Linked DNA regions of Homo sapiens: region 2 is linked to region 1. Evidence: promoter capture Hi-C in 16 types of primary human blood cells and fetal thymus (Javierre and others, 2016). All regions are on one chromosome and are shown on one strand. Each heading gives the region's core, a stretch centred on a gene start or on the middle of the fragment in contact. The rest is flanking DNA. Distances are from core to core; before and after follow the strand shown.

Region 1 (4,639 bases), core at 1,233-3,732:
AAATTAGTCAAACCAAAAGAGGGAGTTGTTGGATCCCTGGTTTATAGCTGGTTGGTCAGAAGCACAGGTTAATCAGCCTGGGGCTTGTAATTGGCATTGGAAGTGTGGGGCAGTCTTGTGGGATTGAGCCCTCAACCTGTGGGATCTGATGCTATCTCCAGGTGGATATGTCAGAATTGAATTGGAGGACACCTAGTTGGTGCCCACTGCAGAAGTGATTGCTTGCTTGTGGATAGGGAAACAGAACCCCAAACATTTTGTCACGGAAGTCTTCTGTGTTGAGGCTGGGCGCAGTGGCTTACGCCTGTAATCCCAGTTACTTGGGAGGCTGAGGTAGGAGAATCGCTTGAACCCAGGAGGCAGAGGCTGCAGTGAGCTGAGATGGCACCACTACACTCCAGCCTGGGCGACAGAGCTGGCTCCGTCTCAAAACAAAGACAAAACCAACAGCAACAACAAGAAGTCTTCTATGTTGGTTGTTGTAGAGTGAGAGAATAGAAAAAGCATTCATTTCTTCTTAATAGTTGCTAGCATTGTGCTACCACTAAGTATATAGTGGTATACAAAATTCAGAGTCCTTGCTCTCTGGGGGCCTCCAATCTAGTGGGAGAGTCAGATATTAAAATATAAGTCTGTCTCTCTGTATAAAAAATTATAAATGACATTAAATGCTATGAAGGAAAAGAATAAGCTTTTTAGTAGTGTTCCATGGAAGCTGAGTTCTGAAGAATGAGGAGCCAGCCAGCCAAAGACTTAGAAAAGAAGCCTTCTGGGCAGAGGGAACAGCCATGGGGCTAGAGCTTAGTGATGGAGGGAGAGGTAAGAGTCGGTAAGTGTTGTTAGCCACTGGAATCTTGAGCAAATTAGGTTCTCCATGACTTGGTCTCCTCATTTACAAAAACAAATGAGTTGTATTAGATGTTTTCCAAAAGCCCTTCTAGCCCTAAAATTCTACTGACCCTATCATTATGTAACTCTGGAAGCAAAAATCTATAGAAATCTATACATGTCATAAGTTCTAAAATTAAAGCTATAATGGGATGGGCAGAACATATGTAGACTATTGATCATCACATTTTAAGAGACTTGGATAAAATGGCATGTGTTCCAGGTAGCTTGTATAGTGACCAATTCTCCGAGTTTGCGAGGACTAAGGGGTTTCTTAGGATAAAGAACTTTCAGCGCTCAGCCAAACTGAGATGGTGGTCACCCTAGCACTGCCTGGGTTGGGAACTCAAAAGCCATGCAAGCAATAGCATCTACAGATGAGAGACGTGATTGCTTTCACTGGTAGACAATTATTTTTCACAAGCATCCTGGAGAGATGCTTGGACTTTATGGTCTTTATGGTCTTTTTCAAGCCCGAGATTCCATAATTCCTAAGTTTTATTTTGTTGTGTGCCTAGGGTCTTTAAAGAAGCTGGAGGAAAAGGACAAAAAAAAAAAAAGGTTAAGAAAAAGAAGGTACAAGAATCTCCATTAATGACCTGTTTTGAGTCATGTGATCCAGAGTTATGTCATTAACTCTCTTTTACTAACACAATCTTTCAAATATATTTTGATTCACCCACAGAAACACACTCTCACACAGAGATACTCACACACCCTCTTGCTTTGCCAAACATTTATCTTTTTTCCCTCTGAGACTTACAGATTAAAGCCCGAATTGCTGCTAGTCTTCAGCAGGTAAGCCTTAGCATTCTGAATGGTGATCTCAAGCATGCTGGGGGCCACTTCAGAGCCCCCAGGCGCCGGCTGCTGTAAATCATAGTCACTGTTTGAGTCTTCCTCCTGAAAAACGTCAAATCTCAGCTCTTTCTGTTTAGCGTTGTTATAGCTCACGTCCCTTCGTCCACACAGGTGGGGTTTGGGTTGCTGAGACTGTTGAAAGGTGTTTCCTTCTGACTGGCTTGTGTGATGAGGAGTTGATTCTCTTTTATCAGATGATTGTTCCAAAGGATCAGGATAAGGTGTCCCAGCTTCAGGAATCACACTCGTGGTCCTGTCCGACTGAGGTGGTGCCGCGAGGTCTTGTCTGGCCGGAGCCAGGGGAGAAGGAGAGGAAGAGGGCTCCCGCGGAGAGACAGGAGCAGGTGATGATGTTTCTGGTCCCGCGGGGCCACCCAGAGGCGTCTTGGCTCTAGACTGCGGGCTCCAAGGACGGCTGCTTCGGGACTGGCGTCCAGTTTCTGGCCCCTGCTTCGCCTCCAAGGGCTCAGACGACTCAGGCTCAGAATATTGGGGAGAAGCTGCTGTCTTTCCTTCCCATGGCCGCCTTGTTTCCCCTAGTTCTTCTTGGTTTTCTTTTTCTTGCTTCGGGGAGGTTGAGTCCTCCATGGAAGCAGTTCAAGAAAAAAAATGTTCTGGATGAAAGGGGCGTGAAAATATGGAAGAAGGCAACTCAGTTAAGTTACTTTGCCGCGGTCTCTTAAGCGATTTCTGGGTCCTGGTTGCTCTGTGAGTTGCTGCGTCCTATCTCCATAGCAACCCCAGGCCGGGTTCCTCTCAGAAAAACTCACCGCGCCTGTTGCCAGGATTCGAGGGCGGAGACTAAGAGAGAACGAGAGAGAGAGATGAAAATCCTAGCTTTGTGATTCGGTACAACCCCTGCCCCTCGTTCTATCGCAGCCAATCCGACCTAGACTCGACCAGTCTTGCTTGGAAACCGAGAACTCCAGATCCTGCGCCTTGAGCACAAAGTAGGAAGAATGGCGACCCCATGCGAGAGACCTTTAGGGGTCTGAGACTGATCCAAGTTGTGCTGTGAGGAGCGAGTCGTGCGTTAGTGGAGGGACAGTGTATTCATGAAGCGTGTGTGTGGAGGGTGTGTGTGTGTGAGAGAGAGAGAGAAGGAAGGAAGGAAAGAACGGAGGAAGGAAGGGAGGGAGGGAGAGAGGAGAGTGAGGGGTAGAGAGGGAGGAAGAGACTGACCTTGGTAATCTCGGAGGTGCAGGTAACAATGGGACCCCAGTGTGCTGACCAGGAGACCCCAAGCCTCACATTTAGCGTGCATCAGCTACAACCAACCAACTCTAAAGACTCGGAGAATAGACAAAGCAGTCCTGAGTTTTGTTCTTCCTGCTTATAAGGAATCTCCTGGTGATTAGGCAGAATATTATACTTGAGAAGGCAATGCAGAAAACCTATAAATAGGCAATTCATGGGTTACCCGTTTTCTAATAATTGAAATTCAAATTAACACTAAACTATATTGGCATAATATAATTTTTATTTGATAATGTAAATGTAAATGCATAATTTTGCAATGATTTAAGTTCAAGATTATGACTATTCATTTATAGTATACAGTCTCCAATATGAAGAAGGTATAGAAGATTGGACCATATCTGGACTTAACTATAAACCATATATTAATTAAAGTCTTTAATGTTAATTGTTTTGTATTTCTTTCTCTTTCTAAATATACCAACAAATACTTGGCATTTGACAGTTTACATTGATATAGCTTCTATTTAGCAAGATGTTGCTCTAAATTCTAACTTCATGGAAGAACATAATACTCCTCCATTCAGTGTGGTGAGGGAATCACAGACTAAAATAATTTGATAAAAACTGTGTGCACACACACAAAATGTTGAATATAACTTCTGCTGGTACAGAGACTCTTTAAAGTCAAATGTCTGGGATTTAGAATGCTTGGATTTCTAAAAACAGAACATTAAGATAAACTAGAACAATAAATTCTGGGGTTTTTTGGTAATTGGTGCAAGAGTTGAGGAAGTTAGCATTTTTTCCCCCTTAATTTCTCCCTTGCAGCTGGCAAGCTGTAATGGAGGCTTTTTTTTTCTTTGAAAGACAAGCCAGAGGGCCAGGTGTGGTAGCTCACACCTGTAATCCAAGCAGTTTGTCTTTTTTTCACCAGGTAATCCCAGCACTTTTGTGTTTTTTCTTTGAAAGACAAGCCAGAGGGCCAGGCAAGATGGCTCATGCCTGTAATCCCAGCACTTTGAGAGGCCACGGCAGGTGGATCAGTTGAGGTCAGGAATTTGAGACCAGCCTGGCCAACATGGTGAAACTGCATCTCTACAAAAATACAAAAATTAGCTGGGCATTATGGCGAGTGCCTGTAATCCCAGCTACTCCGGAGGCTGAGGCAGGAGAATTGCTTGAACCCAGGAGGCGGAGGTTGCAGTGAGCCAAGATCGTGCCACTGCACTCCAGCCTGGACGACAGCCTGTTATCCAGGCTGGAGTCAGAAAAGCCTGTGTCAAAAAAAAAAAAAAAAGAAAGAAAGAAAAAGAAAAGAAAAGAAAAAGAAAAAAGAAAAGAAAAGGAAAAAAGAAAAGAAAAGAAAAAAAGACAAGCCAGAGAAGGGTAGTAGGGCCAGGAGAAAGAACGCATGAAGGAACAGACATAGCTTGCTTATCTCTCCAGTTTAGGAGTGAAGAGCACCTGAAAGGAACAATGTAAGTGTCCGTTATTATTCCTGCTTCATTTTCAGTCCAGAGCTTTATCTTGACTTTGACTCTAGTAATCCTAAATTTGCTTCTTACTGTTCTTAAGATAAAGACTAAAGCTCTTAGCCTACTTATGTTCCCAGTTTTGTATTATGTGTCATATAATGCTGGCCTTATAAAATGGGTTGAGAAGTGTTTCCTCCTTTTCTGTTTTCTGGAAT
Region 2 (4,639 bases), core at 901-3,400, 540 kb after region 1:
TCGGAATTATCTTTGGGCAACTGAAAATGTTTATGAATTGGGAGATGGATTTTTCAAGATAATGCAGATAGAGTACAATAAAAATAATCTATAACGTTATCACCCTTCTTTCCTTGATCTGGTAAACACCTTTCTTGGACAAGTTCAGATTCAAACTGATAGCAAAGTGAAAGGCATTGTTACTATTATTATTTTAACTTAGAGAATCAGTGCATAGGGCACTCATGGAACAACAGAAGTATAAACACCGCCTGGGTCTGCATGGCCATTTGTGCAGCCAGCTCACTGCACCACCTTAGTCAAAGAAAAACACATGAGAATTGGTTGGAAATGTGTGACCCTTGAGCAGTTAAGCTCACTTATCAGCTTTCATCCTCAAAATAAGTGCAACAATGATATTAGACATGTCTGTCATTGACCAATCAGGAACAATTCAGCAAGGTGTTTATAAGCTATTTCATACCCTTTGCTTCCTTATCATTGCTATACTTTTACAAGGGCTGAAATGGATGAAAAAAATAATAATTTCTCATTTGTTATAAAAAGATAGCAAAAATCTAATGGTGAAATCATTTTTAAAATCAAGAAAATGACTCAATAGTTGAAATTAAAATATGTGAAATACAAAAGGAAGTGTGGTCCAATAGAAAAGGATACTTTCAAATAATTTAAAGAAAATAAATCATTTTGAACTTTGCTGTTTAGTATTTTATATTTGCATAAATAAATTTGATATACATTGCATATATATGACATCCATCATAACATACTGTAAGAAAAAAATGAATAATTTCCTTTAAATAATTTCAGAAAAATCTTTTATCATCTGGCAATCATCATATAAACTTTTGGTGAGAGTTCTCATACAGAAACAGATATGCAAGACACTTAGAAAATGGACATTTATAAACGAAGTGACTCAATTTAAAATACTTAAAACAAGAAGAGCACTAAGAAAACAATAATGAAGATGAGGATGAGAAATTCTGTGTTGCAGAAGGAATTTCCAGGAAGAAGTCAATGTCAAGGTATGCAAGGAATCAATGTTAAGGAGAGTTGATATGTGCCAAAATTTTACATTTATCATCTCATTAAATTTTTGTGTTCTACAGTCTACAGGCCCTGCAGATCTCATCCCTCTATCTTTCATTGTCACCTCTTGTCACTCTCCTCACTTTGTTCAGTCCAGCCTTAACAGCCTTCTTTGAGCACCTGTAAAGTGTAGGGCTCAGAATTTATGCCACTTGCCAAGGTCACACAGCTAGCAAAGGACCGTAATATCATCCTGGTATTATTTCATCCCTTTACTCCTTAATTGTGGGTGGTGGTGGGGCACTTTTTTATTGTTAAAAACAGAGCCAAAGACTGAGGTCTAGGTCTCTAGGGAAAGGAGGGCACAAAAGAACCCCAATGAAGAGCGTTAATTTCTCACCTGAGTTTAAAAGTGGGCCTTTGATCCTTTGACTGAAACAATCATCTTAAAATGAAAAGTCTTTGTACCAACTTCTGGGAGGAAAAAAAGTTCCAGGTTTTTTTTTTTTTTTTTTCCCCCAGCTCTTAAGCTTACATTTGCATAATCACACCAAAATCAAAAATACTATTAGCTTTTTTGGGGGCTTACTTTGTGTCAAAATTTTCGTAAGCCTTTTATACCTATTAACTCATATAATCTTCACAATGATCCATATGGTGTAGATACTATAATTATCCCTATTTTTGCAGATGAGGACTTGGGCATAAGAAGTTTAAAAAGAAATACTTACTCACAGTCACATAAATAGAAAGTAATTATAGAGAAGCCAAAGCCTGGGACCTAGCATAGAATCTGTTCATGATTCACAGTGGAGAAAGAGTGGATGGTGACATGTAAGAACTGGTTTCTCTTCCAAAAGGAGAGAAGAGTTCAACAAGCAAGTGGGAAAAAGAGAATCAGAGGGGCCTTGGTGAGAGCTGAAAACCCCCTTGGATGATTGAAATGACCCTAATCTCTGCCCTTCTCCTTCTCTCTGAGCACTCACAAGGGAGGGGGAATCGGATAGGTCCCAGAGCAGTATATATTGCTGCCTGGCTTCCCAGATTGTAACCCTAGGAGGCCATAATGTCAAGGCATAAAGTCAAAGGGAACACAGCATGGCACAACAGAGGGACAGGCATGACATAGAAAACTAAGGGCAGCCCCTCAGATTCTCTTGTGCCCTGGTATGGCACTGGAGAGCATTAGGAAGTTTTTCACATCCCTTCATAGGGCTGTGATGTAGGTTGGCTGAGGGCCACAGATGAGAAGTGGACCTGGGATGGTACAAAGGGAATTAGACTCCTCCCGTCTGACTTCTATGCAAAGAAATAATCTCAAGACAAGTTTTTGGTATAGGCTTTGATATATATGGATGGTCCTACCTCATGGCAGTTTCAATATTGTTAGTGAAATTTTGCTATCTATGAAAATGTAGCCATAACTCACTAAAATATATTTTTAAATAAATAATTTAAAAGTGTTTGCTCAAATTTAATTTTGCCCCATGTATATCTGATTACTCGAAGAAATAAGACAACTGGTTACGTTAGTTTCATCAGTTACATAAAATGAAGAAGCATGGCATATTTCATTACCCAGAAGAAGGGTGACCAACCATTTGGGTTTGCCTGGGACTTCCTCAGTTTTAAAACTGAAAGTCCAGCAGAGCTGGAGACCCTCAGTCCCTGGTAACCAGTATGCCATGTACAAATCTCAAGCTTCCTAACATTAAAAGCATGTACACAAAGGTGTTAGTCATTATGAGGACAGATGAGTCACCCCCAGTCTCCTGGTTTTAGCTTTAGGATATAACAGTATTATTTCTTAAGCTCTAAGTCAGACCTGTGGAGGACTTCTTGACCCAGGTCATTGAATTGTGGATTTGAAGATTTTCTTAATCTTTTCTAAGTGAAATACCTAACTCTGAGACACCAAGAGCTAAGATAGAAAGAGCGTCTGCAGTAGCTTTGCTGATCATGCAGGGGTAATTTAGAAGCAGGTGCTCTTGGCTCCTTTGTGTCAATGTGGTGGGCAGAGGACAGGATAAGTTAACTTGCTCACAGCTTCCTTCACCCTGGCAGCAGCCAGGAGCCAGAATTTGGAACTCTCGTGTCAGCTCTTATTAATTCCCCCAGCAGTCTTTGGCATTATAGTCAAACATCATTTCAAGCTCTCAGTCTGTCAACTCTGGATAATTCTTTGCTATCTCTTTGCTGTTATGGGAATTGATTAATACTTATGAGCACATTTTAATGGAAAAATGGAGTGTAAGTATTATTGCATGAACTGAAAAATAGTTTCCTACATAATATGTACAAGGAAAATAAGTCATGGGCTGTAGAGGCTTCTTGCGAGAGTTTTAAGTGGCGATCACTTACCTGCTGCTTCCCTATTCATTTTTAATATGTTTAGTGCTTTTGTTATTTAATGTTCTCAACAATAATTTCTGCTAAATTAATTTTATTATTGTTGTTACATATTGATGCATTTTGTTTGCTGTTAAGTTCAATACATTTCTTTGTTTCCAGTTAGAATTTGTAAATCACTGACTGATTTTCTCCACTGAAATTTTTCTGGTGTACTAGGGAGATGTTTAATTACTTAATAATTGCTGAAACTCATCACTTAAGAAAATAAATATTTCTCTAGTCAAGGTCATTGCACATCAAATTTCTGTTACATGAATTAGTGCTCCATTCTTGAATTTCTAAGTATAAAATTAGAAGTATTCTTGGCAGAGCTGATAAGACACATTTTGAAGTCCAAGACAGAGAAAATAAAGTTACTTAGAGCATAGAGAATCTGAATAAAGAAATTGAGTGTATCAAGCAGATCATCTCCTCACCTTGATATACCAGTGTGACCCTTTCTTCTTCTTACCAAAATTCTGCAATACTAACTCATAATTAAAATCAGGGTACAGTGGAGACATATTGATACATTCTTCTGGTGCCAGTCTTCTCTTTCAATATTTTAAATGTCACACATACACATAAAAAATTTTTAAAATTACATAACAAACTTCCTCATGGCAAACACATTACATTTTCTAGCATCCATTTCAGAGGGATATTTTATTTTCCAGGGAGCACCCTAAGCCTTTTGCTAATCTTACCAGCAGTTTACTTACTATTTCTTTGGATGTTTTTCTTCCCTGTTATACTTTCCACAGATATCTCACCTTATCTAGGTTATCAGTTAGTATGGGTTAGGTTAAACTCCTACAGGATAACAACCCTTAATTCTCTGAGGCCTAAAACAACAAAGGTTATTTTTCAATTAGGTTATATGTACCTATCAGGTCAGTGGAAGCTCTTCCATGTTTTGCTTAGCCAACAATGCAGGCTAATAGATCACCCCTCATCTGGAACATTGTCATCATGGTAGGGGAAGGAAACACGTGTAACTGCACATTTCCTCTGAAAGGTATCTTGTGTGTGTGTGTGTGTGTGTGTGTGTGTGTGTGTTTATTTAACCTGGAAGTGATGTAATCAGTTCTAACATTTCATCACTCAAAGCAAATCATATGTCTTTGCTTATCTTCAAAGGGTTAGGAAAGTACAATTCTGCCATATTTTAGAAGATGAGAACTGGAAATATCTTTGAACAGCAATAATGAATACC

The links. The method cuts DNA at HindIII sites, captures the fragments that hold promoters and counts their contacts. A CHiCAGO score of 5 or more calls a contact.
Region 2: a fragment that was not itself captured here is called in contact with the fragment with the promoter of RSPH4A in region 1 in 1 of 17 cell types (neutrophils); the score reaches 6.4 in neutrophils.

Annotation. Positions count from the first base shown.
Region 1 is chr6:116,614,322-116,618,960 of GRCh38, reverse strand. It overlaps RSPH4A (radial spoke head component 4A), which reads right to left and starts at 2,482. Exons shown (of 6, transcript NM_001010892.3): 1 at 1,652-2,482. The coding sequence starts at 2,337. RefSeq lists enhancers at 2,163-2,282, 2,333-2,432. The HindIII fragment of the contact is 5,584 bases long and covers 694-4,639 here.
Region 2 is chr6:116,072,374-116,077,012 of GRCh38, reverse strand. It overlaps a transcript of FRK not described here. Among named protein-coding and RNA genes, the nearest start is that of FRK, 14 kb to the right of the region's middle. The HindIII fragment of the contact is 1,171 bases long and covers 1,565-2,735 here.